Linked DNA regions of Homo sapiens: all the other regions are linked to region 2. Evidence: promoter capture Hi-C in 16 types of primary human blood cells and fetal thymus (Javierre and others, 2016). All regions are on one chromosome and are shown on one strand. Each heading gives the region's core, a stretch centred on a gene start or on the middle of the fragment in contact. The rest is flanking DNA. Distances are from core to core; before and after follow the strand shown.

Evidence for each region. The method cuts DNA at HindIII sites, captures the fragments that hold promoters and counts their contacts. A CHiCAGO score of 5 or more calls a contact.
Region 1: a fragment that was not itself captured here is called in contact with the fragment with the promoter of CCDC70 in region 2 in 1 of 17 cell types (erythroblasts); the score reaches 6.1 in erythroblasts.
Region 3: a contact is called between a fragment that was not itself captured here and the fragment with the promoter of CCDC70 in region 2, in 2 of 17 cell types (erythroblasts and total B cells). The highest score is 6.0, in erythroblasts.
Region 4: a fragment that was not itself captured here is called in contact with the fragment with the promoter of CCDC70 in region 2 in 2 of 17 cell types (fetal thymus and naive CD8 T cells); the score reaches 6.1 in fetal thymus.

The regions. Positions count from the first base shown.
Region 1 is chr13:51,303,203-51,306,054 of GRCh38, forward strand. No RefSeq gene overlaps it. Among named protein-coding and RNA genes, the nearest start is that of SERPINE3, 35 kb to the right of the region's middle. RefSeq lists a silencer at 1-285. The HindIII fragment of the contact is 3,312 bases long and covers 1-2,852 here.
Region 2 is chr13:51,860,611-51,863,366 of GRCh38, forward strand. CCDC70 (coiled-coil domain containing 70) reads left to right here and starts at 1,359. Exons shown (of 2, transcript NM_031290.4): 1 at 1,359-1,619. It also overlaps a transcript of TMEM272 not described here. RefSeq lists an enhancer at 961-2,160. The HindIII fragment of the contact is 6,103 bases long and covers 1-2,756 here.
Region 3 is chr13:51,272,185-51,274,955 of GRCh38, forward strand. All of the region lies in intron 3 of FAM124A (family with sequence similarity 124 member A), which reads left to right. Among named protein-coding and RNA genes, the nearest start is that of FAM124A, 51 kb to the left of the region's middle. The HindIII fragment of the contact is 1,000 bases long and covers 816-1,815 here.
Region 4 is chr13:51,327,674-51,330,443 of GRCh38, forward strand. No RefSeq gene overlaps it. Among named protein-coding and RNA genes, the nearest start is that of SERPINE3, 11 kb to the right of the region's middle. RefSeq lists an enhancer at 946-1,445. The HindIII fragment of the contact is 620 bases long and covers 1,204-1,823 here.

The sequences.
Region 1 (2,852 bases), core at 27-2,526, 560 kb before region 2:
TTTTTTTTCTCCTTCCTGTGAAAGTCCTATTATAAAAACAATTAGTCTCCTTGAAGGATTTTGTTCTGCAAAAGAACTAATTCTCTGCACAGCTGCTCATCCTTAGAAATGGCCTAAGTACCAGAGGGAGGGGGCTCCTGCCACTTCTACAGAATCTGCTTCCAAAGCCAGCACCAGCTCTGCCGAAGCAGAAGCCCTTGGGTCCCCCTACACCTCCAGAGTGTTAAGAGCTGTCAGCCACCATGTGTTAATCTGCCCTCCCTGCCAGGCCATTTGGAGGACCCTCAGGAGCCTGGGGAGGCAGGAGACAGACAAGGCCTTTAACCCATCAGCAGCTGCTCTGTGGTCAAGAGGTCACAGTGGCTCAAATCCAAAGGTGAGAAAGGGCTCAAGGATCATGTTGGGAAACAATTCTTTGGGACCCCCAATACTTCATAGTGTGTTCAGCAGCAGCAGCTCTTGATTAAAAAGGGCCCTTTTCAACCTCTTTAGTTTCATAGAGGTATGCAGTTTGATTGAGGAGGTTTGATTTAGGAAAGATAGACATGAAACAGATTATTTTCCCAGTATACCATTATGCTTTGCCACATTCAACTTTTCTGCTGGGTACCAGGCTTCCTTAAGAACACTTCAGCCCCATTTAATAGCTTTTCAATAATTTTCTGTTATTTAGATAGTAAATAACTGGCTGGGCACAGTGGCTCATTCCTGTAATCTCAACAATTTAGGAGGCCAAGGTGGGAGGACCACTTGAGCCCAAGAATTCACAACCAGCCTGGGCAACATAGCAAGACCCTGTGTCTCTACAAAAAGAATACTAAAAATAAAAAGAATTAATTGGGTGTGGTGGTATGTGCCTGTAGTCCCAGCTACTCAGGAGGCTGAGACAGGAGGATCACTTGAGATCAGGAGGTTGAGGCTGCAGGGAGCTGTGATTGTATAACTGCACTCCAGCCTGGGCAGTGCAGTGAGACCCTATCTCAAAAAAAAAAAAAAAAAAAAGAGAGAGAGAGAGAGAGATTAAGTCTTAGTCTTGTCCATTTTTAAATCTCAATCCTATTTGACTCACATGATTCCCCACCACCCATCTCAACTTAGGGATGGCAAGTGGAAAAAGCACCAATTGGTATATTTTGCTGATTCTTGTGGTTAAATCTTCCCCATATGGTGGGTTTCCAAAGGTGATGTCATTCAACACAGAGTTGGGAAGGACGAGATGGGCACAATGAGCTCCTGCCAGCTAATAACACCAGAAGAGCACTGTGTGGAGGGCATGGAGGGACATGGCCTCCCTTGCCCTTCCCTGGGCCTGCTCTTCTGGTGTTGGGGCAGGGAGTGTCAGAGGCATGTGAGCCAGAGCAACTCCATCTTGAAGAGGAGCTGGGTAAAATGAGGCTGAAACCTACTGGGCTGCATTCCCAGATGGTTAAGGCATTCTAAGTCACAGGATGAGACAGGAGGATGGCACAAAATACAGGTCATAAATACCTTGCTGATAAAACAGGTTGCAGTAAAGAATCCAGCTAAAACCCACCAAGACCAAGATGGGCACAAGAGTGACCTCTGGTCATCCTCACTACTACACCCCCACCAGCACCATGACAGTTTACAAATGCCATGGCAACATCCGGAAGTTACCCTATATGGTCTAAAAAGGGGAGGCATGAATAATCCACCCCTTGTTTAACATATCACCAAGAAATAACCATAAAAATGGCAAATCAGCAGGCCTCAGGTCTGCTCTGCCTATGAAGGAGCCATTCTTTATTCTTTTACTTTCTTAAAAAACTTGCTTTCACTTGACTCTGTGGACCCGCCCTGAATTATTTCTTGCGTGAGATCTAAGAACCCTCTCTTGGGGTCTGGATCAAGACCCCTTTCCTGTAACAGGAGGACAATAAGAAGGCCAAAGACATTTCCAGACTGAGCAATTACATGATAGTGGGACTGCTGATGCCAGCAGTTCCAAGCCACCACCCTTTGATTCAGCCAGTGTCACCTTAGCTCATTAGCGATTGTGCAATTATTTGACCTGTTATTGCATTCTGCCTTTATTTAAAAGAAAAGAAAACTACTGGAAAGTAATAATTAAAAGGTCTTCTATGGAAGATCATTTCCACAGAATGATCTTCCAAATGATCTTCACCAATATTGATGCTGGGGGCTTTTTCTTGGCCATCATTCAGCCATTTTTTTTTCCTCTGCTCCCCTGTGATAACGTCCCTCTCCCTGAGCAATGTGTGTGCTTCTTACCCACTGGGTGGGGAGGCAAGCGACGGGGCAGGGAGTAATGCTTCAAAGACATTCTTATGGATCTGTGGCCATAGGAAGCACAGGCATCGTAAGTTTCATGTGCTTGGAAGATGTGACATGCCAAAACTGGCGAGTGAAGATTCACTTCAAATCAGATGCCTTAAACACTTAATCAGATACACAGCAAGGCTGTGTATTTTGTCAATGTTTATTATTGATATAAACTCTTAAGGGAAGGGATGTATACTTCTTTAAGATAATGTAATGACTCGCTGTCTCTGCTCAGCCCTAGGCCAGCTTAATGAGGAAATACTAGGAACATTCCCATGTGGGTCAGAAACAAAATGTCAAGACTGTCTACCTCCGCCCCCTTCAATTATTTAACATCATTCTTGGGTACTAGCCAATGCAATCAGTAGAAGGAAACTGAAGAATAAAAATTGAACAAAAGAAGATACAATTATAATTCTTTGAATTATAAGATTGGTTCACATGAAAAAACTAAGAGAGCCAAGTGAAAAACTATTATAAACAAAAAGAATTCAGTAAGGGAGTTGGCTACTATTTTAATGTATAGAAATCAGTAGCCTTTATGTATA
Region 2 (2,756 bases), core at 109-2,608:
TCCAGCCTGAGTGACAGAAACATGTCTCAAAAAAAAAAAAAAAAAGCATTAAAGGAAAGAATTAAAAACTATGCCTTACCAAAAAGAGACAGAAAAGTATGTGTGCATACATATATATATGTGTGTGTGTATATATATATATACACACACACACACTTTGTATACATATACTTTTATATAGATATATAGAAAAAATATATATATAGAAGTGTGTGTGTGTGTGTGTGTGTATATATATGTATATAGAAAAGCACATATATCCTTTTCTATATATAACCAAACAAATTCTGGAGACACAGTGAAAATTTCTGGAGAAATTCTGGATGGACTAGGGGTCCACTGACAGATGAATGGATAAAGAAATTGCAGCATGTATATAAAGTGGAATATTATTCAGTCATAAACAGAGAATCCTGCCGTTTGTCACAAGATAGATGAAACTGGAGAATATTATGCTAAGTGAAATAAGCCAGACACAGAAAGAAAAATGCTGCACAACTTCACTTATATGTAGAATATTAAAAAAATTAAAAAGAAGAAGTAAGAAAAAAGTCAAATACACAGACAAAGAATAAAATGGCAGCTGCTACGTGTGGGGAGTGGACGGGAAGAGGGAAATCAAAGGGTACAAAGTTGCAGATATATAGGATAAATAATTTAGAGATCTAAGGTACAACATGAGGACTGTAGTTAATAACACTGTATTAAAGATTTTTGCTAAGAGAGTAGATTGTGGGTGCTCTTGCTACAGTGCACAAAAAAGGGTAACTATATGAGATGATGGATATGTTAATTTACTTGACTATTTAAAAATTTTACTACATGACAAAAATTCTGGAGTTGAAAATGAAAAATTAAAGAGGGATTCAACAGCATATTTGAACTGACAGAAGAAAAAAATCCATGAACTTGTAAACAGGTTAATTGAGATTATCTAATCTAAGCAACAGAAAGAAAAAAGAATGAAGAAAAATGAACGTAACTTTAGAGACCTGGGGGACACACTCACGCTACTAGTATTCACATAATATGAGCCCTAGAAGGAGAGGAGACAGAGAAAATGGATGAAAGAATATTTGAAGAAATAATGGCCAAAAACTTCTGAAATTTGATGAAAAACGGCATCAAATCTGCATATCCAAGAAGCTCAACAATCTCCAAGTAGAATAAACCTCAAGACCAAGACACATCATAGTCAAACTATCAAAAGCCAAAGACGAAGAATCTGGAAAGCAGCAAGAGAAGTGATTCATCCCACACAAAGCCCCCACCAGAACATGACTTCCTAGAACCATGCTCCCGGAACCAATGCTGACAGAATCTAAGGTAACAATCACTTGTGAGTCATCAACAGCACTGCCCTATCAGTGAAGTCAAAGATTGAAGAGGAACTCTTTCAAACCTTTCAAGTGCCCCCTCCTTTCCTTAAAGTCTTTTATAGGGGTCCCCTTCTTGGCCATCTCCATCCTGTGAGTCAGGACTGAAAGGGCACAGACAGGTCACTGCCAGCATTGTTGGGGCAAGCCTGCAAGCACGCATCACTGGGGATCTGACATGACAATGGCCGCCTGCCCCCTCTGAGGGCTACAGGACTTACCCCAGTGGGAAGCAGCTAAGCAGTAAGTAACTGTTGGCTTTAGACTGTATAGTATTTGTTCTAAGCATAAGGTAATATATAATATTTTCCTTAAAAAGAAGCTCCTAGTCTTACAGTATAACTGAAAACTGGGCATGTATCTTTAGTGCATGTTTTTACAGCTATACAGATACACATCTACAGTTTTATATTGTACTTTATATTTTAATACACATCTACCTATTTGATATGGTTCTTATTTTCTTTCTTTCTTAAAGAAAGTTTAGTGTTCACTTGAGAAAAACTTGGAGGTGAATGTTTTCCAACATCCTAACCCAGTAGACGCCCATTCATCCAGCTACTATTTCCTGAACACCTATCCTGTGGCAGAACATTTCGCTGGATGCCAGACATAGAGATGGAAGATGAGGTGTTTCTAGTGGGACAGGAAGGGCACATGCTCAGTCTGAGCTTAGGAGAGATGGCCTGGAGGAGGTATCTGAGTGCTGAAGGATTCGCTAGGTGAACTGAAGTGAGGTTGGGCAAGGATATCCAGGGAGAGGGGGCCAGCATGACATGGAAGTGAGGGAGGACTTCACATATTGGAGGGATTCTAGGCAAAGAGCCATACAACATAGAAAATCAAATTTCCAAAATGCAGTTCAATTCAGTTCAATTCAACCAACATTTTCACCAATTCCCTCCTATATAGGCGGCGTTATATTATGATAGCTGCTGGGTTACAGAGATGTCAGGAAGACATGTCCACACCTAATTTCAATCAAGTGTGACAAGTAATAGTGGAGTAACAGACAGACAGTATCGCAGAGGTGGCGAGGAACTTTGTCTGGAGGGTCCGAGTAGCTTTCAGAGGGGAAAGGATGTACAGGAATTCAAGCCCACCACAGGAACAAAAGGGGCTCTCAGTAGAGGATGCGACATGTGCTTCACCACACAGGCAGGAAACTGCAGGCAGAGTGCCAAGAGCTGAATAGAGCCCGTTAATACTGGGCCTTAGATTTGGAGTTGGGTGCAGGCTGGGTAGGAAGGAGAGGGAGAAGCAAGCTGGAGTTGGGCTGCACAAGGCCTTCCTAGGGCGTTCAGCTTTGATCTTTGGGCTACAGGGTCTTTGAAGGTGTGTGAACTGATGTGATAGGACGAGAGAGTGTTCTAGAAAACA
Region 3 (2,771 bases), core at 66-2,565, 590 kb before region 2:
AATATCCTTTTCCCCCTATCTTCTTACAAGGAAGTTGGGGGCACAGGAGGTCAGTAGGTTGGCTTTGGGGGCACACCTCCCCTCTGCTCCCTACCAAATCAAGAGTCCCCAAACCACACTCCCCTCCTGCCCGCACTGATTGTCTCTTGTCTTTATCATTCTGAGACACTGAATGGCCAAGACTTGATGCTGCAGGCCTGGGCCCTAAGAAAGGAGCAGGAGGGAGATGGCCGGGCTAAATGGGAAACAGTGTCTATGCCTAGATGAGAGAGTGGAAAAATTGGTTTAGAAGTTTGTACAGAAAGCAATTGACAGGAGTCGACAAATTAAAGACCACAGGCCAAATCTGGCCTGCCACCTATTTTTGTAAATAAAGCCTTATACACACACACACACACACACACACACACCAGTTGAACCACCAGATCAGCTACCTCTTCCCCTTCCCATCAGAAGGCCAAAGCTTACTCTCTGGAAAGATGGACCAGGGACCTAGACCACAGGACACCAAGCACAGTCAAGGTAGGAGTGCTAGACCGCAGGACGCCAAGCACAGTCAAGGTGGGAGTGCCATACTGGGCCCAGGAGGAAGAAGTGCAATCTGTGTTACACTTCTGGGACTGCCAGGTTCCTAACACCTGCCCAGGCAGGAGGCTGAGGGAGTCCCCTCTCGGGAGAACTGGGAGGCTAGTGGCTGCCAAATCAGACAGCACAGATATTGAACATTTACATCATTGCACAGAGTTCTATAGACAGCACTGCTCTAAGAAATGACACTTGGATAAGGGTAAAACCTCTTTTTTTCCCCCATTATAAGCTTTGTAGAACTAATGTGTACTTTGTTTTTAAAACTCTGTTTACATATCAGTTTATAAAAATAAAAATTTAATTCAAAAAATGATAGGGAGGCATTCCCGCAGAACTTAGACCCCCAGGTTTATGCAAGGGCATTATATTTTCATAATACAAAAGTTTAGCAGCAACTCTCACCTGGGGGCACTTGGCATCTCTCCTCCACCAGGGGACATTTGGCAATGTCCTGAGGCATTTTTGGTTGTCACAACGGGGAGGTAGCCAGGGTGCTATTGGTATCTAGTGGATAGAGGTCAGGGATGCGGTTAAACATCCTCACAGGACAGCTCTCCCAACAAGGAGCTATCTAGCCGAAAATGTCAATTGTGCTGAGCTAGAGAAAACTGAGATTAAACTGAATCTCCAAGATTCCAGTCAGGCTCGCAGATAGATATGCATGCATGTACTTTTTCTTTTAATGAGACAGGGGCTTGCTATGTTGCCCAGGCCGGTCTCAAACTCCTGAGCTTAAGCGATCCTTCCACCTCAGCCTCCTGAGTAGCTGGGACTACAGGCGTGTAACATTGCGTTGGCTTAATTTTTTTTTAACTTGAATCCTTCAGGCTAGAATGCAGTAATTAGCTAAAGTTCAGTCCCACAAGCTAGCATTATACCCTCAGTGCAATAGAAAATTACATTGGAGAATTGAAGAAATTATCTGGATAATTCAAAAACAAAATACTCTATCTCTTGTTGTTCAAATAAAGTAAGAATGAGATTTTTAACCTAAGTTATTGTTAATTGTTTCTGTCAGCTCCTCCTGGTCATTGAACTATGTCACGGGATATTTCTCTTTGGAAATTTCTTAAAATCAATGATACTTAATGAAACTCTGATGATCCTTTGTTAATATAAAAATCAGTTCTGTCTACTCCTGTGTTTTACAGCCAATGGGCAGGGTAATTCACAAATTACACCAAAAATAAATATTCGGGGAAAGATGCAGAACTTATACAAAGAGAAAGCTTGCACCTGGGCATGATATTCTTTCAAGTTTTACAGATTCTATCATTAGATTTGTTGGCGCTAGCTCCGGGTCCTCAGCTGTCACTTTGATTTTCTCTGTTGTTCCTCCTTAAGTGAATAGCTTTTTAATATACATCAGATCAATATCCATGTTGTTTCCTAGAACTTCTAGGTGCCCAGCCCTTTTCTGTTTATTAATAGTATCTCCTAGGATCCTTGCCACATTTTCACAAGAGTCACTACTGATACAGGTTGACTATCCCTTCTCTGAAATGCTTGGGATCAGAAGTGATTAAGATTTCAGATTTTTTTGGATTTTGGAATATTTGCATTATACTTATCACTTGAGCATTGGAAATCCACAATCCAAAATGCTTCAGTGAGCATTCCTTTGAGCATCATGTCAGCACTCAAAAGGTTTCAGATTTTGAAGCATTTTGGATTTCAGATTTGGGATTAGGAATACTCAACCTGTATTAAACAAAGCTGGTCCCTGAGGCAACTACTCAGATATTTTTTTATTTGAAAAGTTGCTCTTTATCATTAGATGTTGCTACTGCTTTTCCCAAAAATATCAGAGTCCTCATAACTTTTTTCTGTTAAAATCAAATAATATTTATTGGTATTTATGATTTATGATATATAGGCATATATCATAACTTACACACATATAAGTACCTTAAAATTACCTTAAGTTATTTTAGAAGATATGTATTTGTATCTCACATGTATTTTTGTATTTATTCATTCAGGAATATATTGAGTGCTTGCTATGTACAAAACTGAACATTTGTTTAAACACATAATTGCAGGATCAGATGTCAAGCAACCCAATTTCTAAAAGCCTCACAGAACTAAGTGAAGATTTAACAATTAACCCAGTTCCTCTAAATATATCAATATCTCCTATTTGTTGGAGTAATTTGTAAGCTCAAGTACAACTGAGAATGATA
Region 4 (2,770 bases), core at 264-2,763, 530 kb before region 2:
TTGCAAAAGAGTCAAAAGTAAAACAAAATTTAAGTTTATATAGTCAAAAAATTACAGGAAGCTAAGGTTAATTTATTATTGAAGATAGAAAAATATTTTCTAAATGTAGTGTAGCCTATGGGTACAGTGTTTATAAAGTCTACAGTAGTGTACAGTAATGTCTTAGGCCATCACATTCATTCACCACTCACTCACTGACTCACCCAGAGTAACTTCCAGCCCTGCAAGCTCCATGCATGGTAAGTGCCCTATACAGGTGCGCCATTTTAAAGTCTTTTATACTGTATTTTTACTATGCCTTTTCTATGTTTAGATTTGTTGAGGTACACAACTACTTCCCGTTAGGTTACAATTGTGTACAGCATTCGGTATAGTAGCATGCTATTCAGGTTTGTAGCCTAGGAGCAATAGGCTATACCATCTAGCCTGGGTGTAGAGTAGGCTCTAACATCTAGGTTTGTGTAAGTGCACTTTGTGAAGTTTGCACAATGATGAAATTGCCTAACAGTGCATTTCTCAGAACCTATCCTTGTTGTTAAAGTGATGCATGATAGTATATGTTTAAAGAACTTCAGGATTTACAAAGTACTTTCATATTCATTATTTGACTTAAACACAAACTTGAGGCACACTTATTATTTCTGGTTTACAGATTAGGAAACTGAGGCCCAAAGACATTAAAATGACTGGGCCCAGGCAATTCAGCACGGAGCAATGTGGCAGGGTCGGGATTAAGTTGTGGGACATGATGGGGATCCTGCTCACTGACTTGACTTGCGGGGCCCCAGAGCAAACCCCCTGCTCACAGGGCCTTAGGTCCTGCCGCCTTAGTGGCACTGCAGCTCACACCTGCGTCTCTCTGAAAAAGAAGCCCAGCATTCTCTGGCATTTATCCATGACCCTGGGCTCCCAGTTAACTCCTGAGTTTAGAAACCAGGCATTAGTCCTCTAATCCCCACAAGCCCCTCCCATTGTGTGGAATCTGGATAAACCCCAGGCCTGAGAGATGCAGGAGGGAGGCACCTTCCCCAGTGTGATTGGCAGGACGCAGAGCCCCAAGGCTAGCGTGGGACAGGAGGCTGCCTCTGGCAGGCAGGCAGGCAAGCATCTCACAGCTGCCCCACCTGGCTGCTGGGCCAGTCGCCTTGAGCTTGGGATAAGGAACCACGAGTCCCCACTTTACCATGAATCCACCCAGGGCAAAGCTTCCTAAGTCTTTATTTTTTCTTATTTATATAATGGTTCAATATCTGCTGTTTTCTTATCTCATAGGGAAAAAGGTTTTGAGTAAAAACTAAGATCTATGTGATACTGTAAACTCCTTGGCATGGAGAGTGGGATGACAAAGTGTCTGTTAAAAAGGCTACTGTCCCTTTCTTTGATTGATTCATTCATTTGTTCAATAACTATGTATTAACCACCTTCCATATGCCAGACTCTATTCTCAGAATTGGGAACAGAGCTATGAACAAGAAAAATCTCCCCCTATCCTCATGGAGTAGAATGTCCGGAAAATTCAAACCCTAAGCCACCAACAGTCAGTACAGTCAGAGCTCCATTATTATTCTGAGTATTTTCTATAACATTTTTTCAATGGAAAGTTCCCAAATGAAAGCAGCTCTGCCCTGCTTCTAGGATGACAAGCCCAGTGTATCGGAAAATACAAACTAATCTCAATACACATTGAAACAAACAATAGGTACCAAGGGTAATTCACTGTCTAGTCTGTGATATGCAAAGTGAATTTTTGTAAAGGATATCTCATCCTGCATTTTAACAGGCATAAATAAAAACCTGTTTGCTGTGCTTAAAACTGGTAAACAAGCTTTTCCACCAAAAACATTCCTTTGCTTATAAACATGTTTTTCTCAAAAGTAGTTAAAATTATAAACATGTTTACCCCATTCCCAATAAACATAAGGCTACCTCCTTCAAAAGTAATAAACAGCTCTACCCCAAAGTCATAAACATATTTTAGACTGTACAGAAAATTTATGGCATAAATTGGTAAGTTGTGATATAATTTGGAAACCACATATACAGCCAATGATGTAATGGCTTAGATAATTTTGGAGTACAACCAATATGGTAGATCCAACCACAAACCATTAAACTATGAGGCAAGTCCAGAGTTCCCAGGCTCTGCAGTTAACACAGAGACCCGCTGCCAGACTGTGTGAGTGTTGATGACCCCCTACATCTTCCCGGTGTGTCCTGAGCTGGCTGCAGTTCACCACATGCCACCCATAAGGGACTCTGCCCTGGGGAAGATGGAGACCAAGATCTCTGCCAGTGGAGACCACTGGATGCATCAACCGAGAGTGAGTGGCAGCCAAAGCCAAGGGGGAGATGGGCCAGTCCCTGACAGGTGGCACGTGCCTTCCCCACTCGGCCCCCTCTTGCTGGCTCACAGGTGCCCCTTAGCTTGTTGAAGGAAATAAATAACTGAACCCTGTTTAAACTAGGTGGTGTTTTTGTGTCTGATGGTTCCCACTCATTGACATTCTTTTTAAAATCCTTTTTATTTTTTATTTTTAGAGATGGGGTCTTGTTCTGTGGCAGACTGGAGTGCAGTGGCACAATCATAGCCCACTGCAGTAGCGAGCTCCTGGGCTCAGGTGATCCTCCCGCCTAGGCCTCCTGAGTAGTTGTAACTACAGGTGTGCATACCACTCCTTGGCATGCTAAATCCAGGCTCTAGCTTTGACTAAAGGTGTAATTCTTCAGAATAAAAAACCCATTTATACTACTATGTGCATTGCCAATCCCA